Linked DNA regions of Homo sapiens: regions 2, 3 and 4 are each linked to region 1. The links are contacts of gene promoters, found by promoter capture Hi-C in blood cells and fetal thymus (Javierre and others, 2016). All regions are on one chromosome and are shown on one strand. The core of a region is centred on a gene start or on the middle of the fragment in contact, and the rest is flanking DNA. Distances in the headings are between cores, read along the strand shown.

Region 1 (2,846 bases), core at 121-2,620:
CTCTACTTACAAAAGTAGGAGAGGAATGGCAGAAGCTGGAAACTGAGTTCAGGGAACTGCTACAAGATTGTTACAATCCTTATCCACGCATCCCGAGCTTTACCACAGCAGATTACCCAGAGCTTCCCAGACAAGGCCGGAGAGCCGCGGAGAGAACTATGACCCCCCTCCTCCCTCCTCCTACAGAGCAGCCTCGCTCCCTAAGGCCAAACCCGCGCCCCCCATGACCTCCAATGGCTCGAGAAAAGAGCTTTGAATTGCCCGCTTTTTCCAAAGCTGGTTCATACTCCCTCGCAAAGCAGGGAATAGGGTCTGGGGACAAAAGGAGGCACATGCCTGCCACATGAGGAAAACCCCATCACCTGGAACTCGGCGAACTCCTCACAGTTCACACCGCCACTGGGCGCCGCCATATTGGACAAACACGAGGACCCCGCTGCAGGCCAATCACCGCGGAGCAAAGGTGACCGCGGAGTCGCCTGACAAAAAATATAGTACGAGGGGAATCCTTAGGAAAGCTGAGTGCAAGGCTTGAGTTCAACGTGGTCCGCATCCACCTCGGAACCTGTCACCCTGCTGTCCCAACCCTTTTAACATGTCCTCCTGGAACTGGGCCAGATACATGGATCAAAGATTGTCAGACCTTGAAGGGACTGTTTACTCCAATCCCATCTTTTCACAAAAGGGAAACAATTTCCTTGTGGTTCCCCTACCAGGTCGTTGAAGGAAATCTAGGCAAGTGAGGCCTTTCTAATACCTCTCACTCCAGTGCCTAACCTCCTCCCCGGACCCTGGAGCAGGGGGGTCTTTGTTAAGAATTTGGGACCACTAAGAAACGTCAAGAAAAAACGGCATTTCTGGCAGTGTGGGTGGGTATGAGTAAAGTGTTTAGGATGGAGATGATCAAATGTTTTTAGAAAATAGGTAAATAGAAAACAAATTGAAAACATACATGTTAATTTCTCAGATTAGCCTGAGGGATGCTCCAACAAGAGATAGGGCCACTGAGCAGAGTCCAATTATGTGTTTTCTGATAAAAGCATATGTTCATTGAAAACACTGGAAGAGCGGCATACTGGAATACTGGTTTATCTGGTGTATTTCGGGAGTTTACAGATCACGAAAGTTGCACATTTCCTTTCTATTTCACACAGGTACTCCCATGGGTACATATCCGCTAGGGCAAGGGCCCACGGCGCCACACTCCACAGGACCATCTCCGAGGCTGGCTCAGGATGCGGCGCCAGGGGCACTAGGCTGGCGCCGCGGGTCTCCAGCGCGTGGCGCACGTCCTACACGCCCCGCACTGGCGCAGGCCTGTACACCGCGTCGCGCACGCCCCGCCCCCCGGCGCCGCCTGCGTCCTTCCCACTCCAACGCTGGGTGACATTGAGCTCACCAGCGCCACCGTCCCCGGCGAAGTTCTGCGCTGGTCGGCGGAGTAGCAAGTGGCCATGGGGAGCCTCAGCGGTCTGCGCCTGGCAGCAGGTGAGACGCCGGTCGGGATATGGGAGGTAGGGGAGCTGGCCCGGCCGCTGCGGGTGGGGGAATCCTGAAGCCTTCCTGGGCCCCGGAGTGGCTCCATTCCATGACGCACTTTCTCGGTTCCTCAGAATCCTACCTACTTAGTAGCCATGTGGGAGGGAACTAGGTGAGCAGCTGCTGATAGGCATTGGAGACTGCCCGTGAATTACCCTCATCTCCATCCACCCAGCTCCCACCAACTTAACTGCCCACGCGCCTACCCTTCTCCCCACCCCCGTCCTCAGCCTCCCCTGAGCTCAGTCTGTAAAGCACCTACTATCCCTAGACCTCCCCTTTACCCATGCATTCAGCTTTCCACCCTAACCTCCCCTATCTATTGCTCTCCTTGAGTCTTCCCTCTTCCCCCTGCTCCTTCCTCTCTGGAGTTTATCCCAGAAAACCTCCAGTCTGAAGTTTCCCCACTCATTAAATGTCTGATTAGGCCAAGGATTTAGGTCTTAGAGATTAATAATAATTGTTTTCTTAAAATGGAGGATACATTACTTTTAAACACTTATACAATTAATTGATTCGAATTTCTTGGAGGAAGTGTGTAATTGAAGGATCTGCAGTTTGTTTTGGTGGTAGACATTTGTGTGATGACTATTTTGGACTTAGGTAATGAAAGCTTAATTCTTTTTTTTTGGGAGAACCAGCAGAGCCTTGGCATAGTAGGGGTTGAGAAATCAGAGGGCTTGCATTTTGACTCTTTTCTGGGTACCAGAGATCTTTTGTTCAATGGCACACACTACATTATTAAAAAGTTGTTAATTAAATTTTTAAAGGAAAAATAGCCCCAAACTTGGCTATTCAAATAATATAAATATATATTGTAATGTAAATGAAGTAATGCAAAAAAAAAGAGTGAATGTTGCATAGTTTCACAAGTTTGATACATAACCTTCCCCACCTCAAGATTATCCTTTACACAGCTTATCTAGTGTTCCGGTAGAGAATGGACTGGAAAACATGTCTCAAACTAGAGAGTATTATTATATTTACTTCCTTTAAAAGCAAACACTTCTTCCACTAAAATCCTCAATACTATGATTTCATTGATTTTGTCAGTTTTGTTGAACTAATTCACCTAAAATATCTTCTGTACATCCTATTAACATTATGAAGCTTTTCAACAAGGCAAGTGAAAGGATCATTGCTCTGTAAAAAAGTTAAAATGGACTGCATGAAAAGAACTTTGACATCTTGGAACTACTTTGACATCTTTGAACTAATACTGAGTATATTGTAAGTAGTTCATCTTCTTGCTTTGAGAATATATTTATGCATCTTGCATAAATATATTTTTGCATCTCTGCAAACTT
Region 2 (2,833 bases), core at 24-2,523, 1.8 Mb before region 1:
GTCAGCTCCCGAAAGGCAAACACCCCATCTTCCATTTTGTCTGGATTTCCCCCACTGAGCCTAGAAGATTGACTTAACACTGACTAGTGTGCTGTGTGCTTCACGCGGTGGGTGCTTAATAAATATTTTAAAACAGTATTAAAATGTTGAATAAATTTGACAGCAGTGCTGCTTCTCATCATTTCAAATGCCAACACTTTCTAGGTCCCTTTTCTAGCAACCATTTCCCAACATACCTACGCGCCCCCAGACGTTTCAGCCAAGCTGGGGCTCTCTTTTGATCCATCCTTCTTTGCCCGAGTTATGGAAATATTGTTTACATTTTTTCCCCTGAGGAGAAGGGGAACCCAAAGACCCTGCTGTGAAACTTGAAGTTGTTTTTCTCCTTGGTAACTGGGGAGAAGGAAGGACAGTAGGGACAGAGAAGGTTTTGTTTCTGATTACTTCAGTTTTCGCCCCAGATCGTCTTTTACAATAAGATACATGCCCCTATGAGTATTTTCATACCTGTAAGGATGTTTTTAATTCTTTGCATCTGAAGAGTGCTAAGGATTTTAGGCAAGAGGTTTTAGTATTTTAACTAAGATGTTTTCTCATGAGCTTTATTCAGTATCTCATTTTCTTCCTGACCTTCTATAGTCAGTCAGGCAACATTTCTCTTATAACATCATTTTTCCTATTAATCATTATTTCGTACCTGTGAAAAATAAGCTTACACTTAATGTTGTATGAATCTAGCATGGTAAAGTACAGAAAAGCTTATTCTCTTCTTCTTGGGTAGGGAATTCTGTTTTGCAAAGCACTTTGTGATCTATTTGTTAGCTTATTTAATCCTCACAACAACTTTGCTAGGTGGACAGGAGTCATTATCTCCAGGATAAGGAAAAGGAAACTCAGAGACTTTAAGTGACTTATCCAAGGTGACACAGCACGGTTAGACCCACAATGAAAACCCGGACTTCTGACTCCACAGCCAGTCCCACACAGCTCAACTTTACATAATAAGCCCTGGTTATGTCAGTAGAGACAAGGCTGCTAGGAAGAAGCAGCGCGGTGACAGATGAGTAGGTGGGGAGCGGCGGTGGGGCAGGGCGCACTGCGAGAAGAGCACTTCGCGCATGCGCATATCACCGAGCGAACGCGCCGTGTTCGGGAAGGTAGGAGAAAGAGGCGGAGCTCCTTGTTAACGACATCCCCAACCTCTGCTAACGCGCAGGCGCACTTCCTGAAGCTGAAGGTCAGCATAGACAAAGGGCCTCAGAATCGCGCAGGCGCAATTGTGCCCTGGTTCGCCAAGATGTCGTTCCCAAAGTATAAGCCGTCGAGCCTGCGCACTCTGCCTGAGACCCTCGACCCAGCCGAATACAACATATCTCCGGAAACCCGGCGGGCGCAAGCCGAGCGGTTGGCCATAAGAGCCCAGCTGAAACGAGAGTACCTGCTTCAGTACAACGATCCCAACCGCCGAGGGCTCATCGTGAGTGTGGGGCCTCCCAGGCGGGAATAGGGCCCGAGTCCTGGGAGAGACCGAGAGAGACCACGCAAAGGGTCGGCCACCGCTCCCGATCAGTATCTCAGACGCAGGTCCTCTTCCAGGCCTAGCCAACTCACTACCCTTTTACCTTTGCCAGAGCTTGGCCCTCGAGAGGACCGGCTCTGGACTCAGACCTGGCTGGGTTTGAATCCTGGCTTGATCACTTCCTGCCTGCGTGACCTTAAGAACGTTATTCACTCTGCTTATCCTCGATTTTCTGTCTGCAAAATGGGCGTAATATAGTGCTTACTCTTTTATCAGGCTGTTAGGATTAAATGAGATAGAGTATGTGACTGTCCTAGCACAGTGCCTCGTTCGTAAGGCGTGTTCAGAAAATGTTTCTATATATATGCATATATATATTATATTATATATATATTCTATATATATGCATATATATTATATTCTATATATATGCATATATATTTTATATATATGCATATATATTATATTCTATATATATGCATATATATTTTATATATATATATAATTTTAAAGAGCTGGTGTTTACCTTTCAGTTCACAGCTCATAGGGATACTGCTCTCTCCTGATGGGAATACAGTGATTCCTTCAACCTGCATCTTTTAAAGACCCTGAAGCTTGCTGAAGTTCTAGGCTTTGGAGTCAGAACCCAAAGCACTACTCATTGGCTAACTCTGTTACCTTGGGCAACTTCAACTCCTCTGAATTATAGTTTCCTGGTTTCGTATATAAATGATGTGCATTATGAGGTTAAATAAGACAGTCTGTGTAACATTCGCAGCACATAATATATGCCCAGTAAACTGGTAATTAACAGGTGTGCTTTCATTAGGTAGTTTTCTATACAGGAACTAAGTAGGTTAAATATGATGTTAACAGAACAGGACTGGACTTTTCCCACACGTTGCATTGGTGTTTTGGAATTTTTGGAAGTTATGAGGATTGAATGAAAGTTACAATGTGCCAGGCACTGTGCTAAAACTCTTTTTGAGTACTATTTACATATCACAACTATTTGGATGATTAAGCTCTACTACTGTCCCCATTTTACAGATGAGAAGACAACATGGGAAGGACAAGTAGGTCATACAGAGATACCTCTTTAGTAGGTGATAGAGCAAAATTCTAACCCTGGTTTGTGTAACCCACAGCATCTGCTTTTAACTAGTTGGTTATACTGTCTCCAGCCAGAACCTTGTTAACTTGGGAAGAGGGTGCAGAGAGACACATTTATTACAAACTCACATGATTGGGTTTGATGTGTTAGTGTGATGCATTAAAAAAGAATAAGGCCTCAGTCAGACCTGAAATTGAAAC
Region 3 (2,738 bases), core at 32-2,531, 1.2 Mb after region 1:
CTCAAACATAATTTTAAACTGCCATAACTGCATTAGTCCACTAATTTTTAATCTAACTATACTTGACAAATATGCAAAGATAACATCTGCCTCATCAATGAATATCATGGACTCCAAAAATGAATAAAGTAGAAAACACCCACAACTCATTACAGAGGAACTCGTTTTTTAAAAACTGACATATAATTCACATGCCACAAAATTCACAATTTTAAACTGTACAATCTAGTGGTTTTTAATATGTTCACAGAGTTGTGCACCCACCACCACTATTTCAAGAACAATATCATCACCTTAAAAGGAAATCCTGTACCATTAGCAGTCACACCCCACTCTCTCTCCCCACAGCCCCTAACAATTCCTCTACTTTCTGTCACTATGGATTTGCCTATTCTGGATATTTCTTATAAATGAAATCATACTATTTGTGACTTTTTGTATCTGCCTCCTTTCACATGCATTTTTTCAAGATTTATCCAGGCATATATCAGTAATTCATTTGCCTTTATTAATTTTATGAATGTTTATATCCATAGACCACATTTTATCCATGAGTAGCATTTTATTTATAGATACTTTTTTTTTTGGAAATGGGGTCTTGCTCTGTCACCCAGGCTGGAGTGCAGTGGCACGATCATGGCTCACTGTAGCCTTGAACTCCTGGGCACAAGTGATCCTCCCACCTCAGTCTCCTGATTAGCTGGGACTACAGGCATGTGCTACCATGCCTGGCCAATTTTTTAATTTTTTGTAGAGATGGGGTCTCGCTATGTTTCCCAGGATGGTCTTGAATTTCTGGCCTCAAGCAATCCCCCCATGTCAGCCTCCTAAAGTGCTGGGATTACAGGTGTGAGCCATGGTACTCAGCCAGGCTTCCTTTTGTACCTTGCTACTACATGCTCCTTTGTACTTGCTTGGTAAATGTTTTTATGTCTTTTAAAAAGCAAAGTGTTATTATTTTCTTAAGAAGATGTGAAATTGGAGAACAAGTAATTTCGATTTCCTTTTTAAGTAAACTCCCACAGAACCTAATAAAGAATAACATTTAGCATAAAGAGATATAAATGAGTAGCTGCCTTCCCTGGATTCATTTTCTCCTCCTGTAAACAGGATATATGTCAACACTAATAATTCCCATCAGGATAACTTATGTGTAATTAAACAATACCACACACATCTAATTATTACACAGTGTAGATGGGGTAGGCAATGAAAAACTCCTCAACCACAGAAATTGTGGTTTTAGCAAGCCTGCTCTATCGCCCAGTCCAAGGGATTACTTCCATCACTGACCTTTGCAACGTTAATTGCCTGCATGTTCCTGGGAGTCTTCACTTCCTTATGCACAGACATTTTCCCAAAATCAAATCCAGGATTTGTCACTTAATTGGTTCTTAGTGGGGATAACAGAGATAAAACCAAAAATCCAAGATATTTTCCTAAATCCCTATTAAAAATTCTATAAGGATAAACAGGCTAATCCTTCAAAGTCTAAGACTTGGTTCCTGAGTGGATTTTAAAGTATGACACTGTTTAATGTCCCTACCTTCCATAAGATATACTTAAATTTTAAAAATTATACTTCTAACATTACCAAGTTTTTTTTTTTTTGAGACAAGGTCTCACTCTGTCATCCAGGCTGGATTGCAGTGATGCAATCATAGTTCGCTGCAGCCTCAAACTCCTGGGTTCAAGCTCAAGCCTCCCATTTCAGCCTCCCAAGTAGCTGGGACTACAGGTACCCACCACCCAGCCCAGCTAAAAAAAAAAAAATTTTTTTTTTGTAGAGATGAGGTCTTGCTATGTTGCTCAAGCTGGTCTCGAACTCTTGCCCTCAAGTGATCCTCCTGCCTTGGCCTCCCAAAGCTCTGGGATTGCTGGGACTATAAGCATGAGCCACTGTGCTCAGCTCTAATATTATGATGTCTTAAAGAGATAGAAACCCCTTTAAATTATTGAAGTATTCCAAATGGGGACAACCCCCTACTATATCAAGTACTGGAAGTCTGATGGTCTTGACTCCAAATTTGCTTCTCTGTAGCTTGTGGGAACTGTACTGGCCAAGGTTCTGAAAGAGAAAGTACTACTTATTTACTAGTGTCCGCTTCCAAAAAAAGTTCAAGCCTCTAAGTTTAAAAAATGGTTCACATTAGGATTTGTTAAAATTTCCTCACACTCAAATTTAGGGTAGTAAGGGACTTTAGAAATCTACTTTAACCTAATTATTTACAAATGAAAAGGAGGTGGATACGAGAGAAAAGACTTGCCCAAATCTATAGAGTCAGTTGGGAAAACTATTATACTTAAAATAAAAAGGTACTCAGGCTTCCAGCTGGAAGCTCATTTCATCATACCACCTACTTAAAATGCCTAAGTTTGGACACTATTGAAATTCCTCTGTGTTGCAGTGAGCCGAGATCCCACCACTGCACTCCTGCCTGGGCAACAGAGTAAGGCCCTGTGTCAAAAAAAAAAAAGAAAAAAGAAAGAAAGAAAAAAAGAAATTCCTCTGCCTTCTAAGAGAAAAAAACAAAAGCAAAATGGATAACTTTCTGATCTAGAACGTGAGAGTGAATCCAGCCTGGGAAACACAGCCAAACCTCACCTCTACCAAAAATATAAAAATGAGCCAGGCACGGTAGTGCACGCCTGTGGTCCCAGCTACTTGGGAGGATGAGGTGGGAGGATGGCTGGGGCCTGGGAAGTCAAGGCTGCAGTGAGCAGTGATCACACCACTG
Region 4 (2,772 bases), core at 108-2,607, 1.2 Mb after region 1:
AGCAAAATCATGAAATGTTTATCACAAAAGTCAGGATAGTGGATACTTCTGAACTGGAGGTGGGCACCCCTCTTTCTTATCTTTTTGTCTTCATAGAAAAGGTACAAAAAGACATATGTACTAACCAAATTTCGAGGTTCCTAAATAATGGAGACTAACTCTCGGTTAGTTAGAGAGAAAATGAATTTATTGAAAGGACATTACATAGCTCACAAAATTGATGGAAAAGCTGAAGAATGAGGCTTGGAACTTGGAAAGGAGCCATGGGAAATTAGGCAGCCCGAAATAGAGACCAAATCAATACACAGGAAGCATCTGGTTAGTATCCAACTGCGTCTGTCATTGGCACAACCACCATCAGACGTTGGACAGTACCCTTATTGCTTCCTCTTCCACCTCTGGAAAGATTCTAAGTGCCATTTGCTTCTTTCTGTTACTCCAGAATCAAGGTCTTAGGTAGGAGTGTCTGATTGGAAGGTCCTGTGCCCAAATTCTAGAGACAAGGGATCTGGAAAAGGGGCTATTTGTCCATACTTAAGCTTCTTTATTGGATTTTTTTCCAAATAGGAAGTGTTAGATACTAGGAGGCCAAAAATGAAAAACTCCTATCACAAGGAATATTAGAAATAAACATATCTGGCTTCTGCCTATTCACAGCGAGGAGAAAAGATTAATAGGATCAGTTAAGATCTGTGAAATTCACAGGGCCATGCTTTTACTTGGAGACAAGGGATTCTGCACAGTCACTGAACTGAAAGGCAGCCAGGCTTTCTCTTCCTTCTGCTTTGCAGTGCACCACTCTTTCTCTTTTCTAGTTTTTCTGCCTGTGATTGGCAGTGGGAACTGGGGTGGAATTCTGATCAGTCCTGCCAGGCCAGGAAGCTATCTTCAATTCAGGAAGGTGAGATGTGACCCTGCTGCTGTCTCCAAACTGGCCAGCATCAGAGAACTCTTCAAGGGTATGTTTTTGGGTGCCTGACCAACCACGAAGACAACTGACATTTGGGCCGGGCATGGTGTAATCCTAGCACTTTGGGAGGCCAAGGCAGGAGGATCACATGAGCTCAGAAGTTTGAGGCCAGCCTGGGCAACATAGTAAGACTTTGCCTCTACAAAACATAGAAATATTAGCTGGATGTAGTGGTGCATGTCTATAGTCCCAGCTACTTGAGAGGCTGAGGCAGGAGGATGGCTTGAGCTGGGGAGATTGAAGTTGCAGTGGATGGTGATAGCACCACAGCACTCCAACCTGGGCAGGCAACAGAGCAAGATCCCATCTCAAAAAAAAAAAAAGACAGCTGACATTTGGATTCTTGTTTGGCTGGTGATCTAGTTTTTCTGTCATGCAAAACCCTGGAGGAAAAGAGGGATGGGTGATAGGAATCAGACTCTAAATTCCACCCTAAACTTCCAGTTAGCGGTGCCTTAGACTGGCTGGTGATACAACCTAATATGAAATGGCTATATCAGATTCATCTCTTTGAGAATCTGAACTTGGAAGAACTGAGCCCTCAGCAGATGTGGGGAGAGAAGAGACACATGTGAGAGGCTGTGTGATAGTTGCCTTAGTATTTGATGATGCTGTGATCAGCTGCAGGCCATAGTCTCCCTACAAATAGTTAATGAACACACTAATGAAGTTCAATCACGTTTATGAATAAACACTGATTAAAACAATGAGATAGATGTCTTCTTCTTTTTCTTTTCTTACTCAAAATGTCAGTAACCCTGTTGGCAGGCGTATAAGAACAGTTGTGCTCTTACACTTTGCTATTGAAAGTATAAATTGATAGACTTTCTGGAAGACAGCTTGGAAATACATAAATATATACTGAAACTTTAAAATTATGCGTGTCCTTTGACCCAACAATTACACTTCTTGGAACTTTTTTATTTTTATCTGTTTTAGAGATAGGATATTGCTCTATTGCCCAAGTTGGCTTCAAACTCCTGGGCTCAAGTGATTCTCTCACCTCAGCCTTCCGATAACTGGGACTACAGGCACACGCCACTGCACCCAGCCATTGGAATTTATCCTAAAGAAAGAATTTAGGATGTGAAAAAAGATTTAGTTATAAAAGTTCATTCATCACAATGCTATTTACAATAAGAATATTTCCAAACTGTTGGAAACAATCTAAATGTCCAGCAGTATAGACTGACTAAATTATGATGGAAGCTTAAAATAGTATATTCAGCCATTAAAAATGGTTTTGCAGAAACTTACTTTTAAATGAGGCTTCTGAGTCAAAAACAAAAACAATTAATCATTTGTAGCAAAAGCAGCAGCCCAAGCAACATCCTATGTTGGTTTCCAAGGGTCATCATGAGGGCGAGATGGTACCTGCACATGCAGCGGGGTGCATTACAGGACAGGAGCCCTGTAAAAATTAGGAAACTCTGATCTTCTATATAACTGCCAGAGACCTGCCCATCATCCTCTCCAGAGAGAGAGAAACCTTAGTTTACTCTGGAATGTAAGCAAGTCTTGTCCAGGAAGGGAGGAAGAAGAGTTCTTTATCTTTACTATCCTGGACCATCTCCAGGGAGGTAAACATGTCTACGCTTTACTATCCTGAGATGTCTCCTTATATAAGTATTCTTGAATTGTTTGCAATTGCCTTCGATCAGAGGACCTGAGCCATGCAGAAAAGTGAGATGTTCAGGGTAAATCTTCTTCTAACATTGACTGTATGTGAAGGGCATTAGATGCAACTGTCAATTTTTTTTCTCAGTTTGAAAAAGTTTTTATTTTTTATTTCCCATTTCTTA

The links. The method cuts DNA at HindIII sites, captures the fragments that hold promoters and counts their contacts. A CHiCAGO score of 5 or more calls a contact.
Region 2: the fragment with the promoter of NDUFB4 here is called in contact with the fragment with the promoter of FAM162A in region 1 in 2 of 17 cell types (total CD8 T cells and fetal thymus); the score reaches 7.3 in total CD8 T cells.
Region 3: a contact is called between a fragment that was not itself captured here and the fragment with the promoter of FAM162A in region 1, in 7 of 17 cell types (non-activated CD4 T cells, naive CD4 T cells, activated CD4 T cells and 4 more). The highest score is 10.0, in non-activated CD4 T cells.
Region 4: a fragment that was not itself captured here is called in contact with the fragment with the promoter of FAM162A in region 1 in 2 of 17 cell types (naive CD8 T cells and non-activated CD4 T cells); the score reaches 6.4 in naive CD8 T cells.

What each region holds. Positions count from the first base shown.
Region 1 is chr3:122,382,812-122,385,657 of GRCh38, forward strand. FAM162A (family with sequence similarity 162 member A) reads left to right here and starts at 1,371. Exons shown (of 5, transcript NM_014367.4): 1 at 1,371-1,488. The coding sequence starts at 1,455. It overlaps MIX23 (mitochondrial matrix import factor 23), which reads right to left and starts at 420. Exons shown (of 5, transcript NM_001017928.4): 1 at 363-420. The coding sequence starts at 413. RefSeq lists enhancers at 1,182-1,682, 1,506-1,555 and a silencer at 1,266-1,415. The HindIII fragment of the contact is 2,247 bases long and covers 1-2,150 here.
Region 2 is chr3:120,595,063-120,597,895 of GRCh38, forward strand. It overlaps NDUFB4 (NADH:ubiquinone oxidoreductase subunit B4), which reads left to right and starts at 1,274. Exons shown (of 3, transcript NM_004547.6): 1 at 1,274-1,477. The coding sequence starts at 1,298. RefSeq lists enhancers at 1,345-1,684, 2,725-2,794. The HindIII fragment of the contact is 1,375 bases long and covers 757-2,131 here.
Region 3 is chr3:123,577,702-123,580,439 of GRCh38, forward strand. The region is part of intron 2 of HACD2 (3-hydroxyacyl-CoA dehydratase 2); the gene reads right to left. Among named protein-coding and RNA genes, the nearest start is that of HACD2, 6.0 kb to the right of the region's middle. The HindIII fragment of the contact is 5,964 bases long and covers 1-2,738 here.
Region 4 is chr3:123,595,238-123,598,009 of GRCh38, forward strand. All of the region lies in intron 2 of MYLK-AS1 (MYLK antisense RNA 1), which reads left to right. Among named protein-coding and RNA genes, the nearest start is that of MYLK-AS1, 11 kb to the left of the region's middle. The HindIII fragment of the contact is 1,640 bases long and covers 538-2,177 here.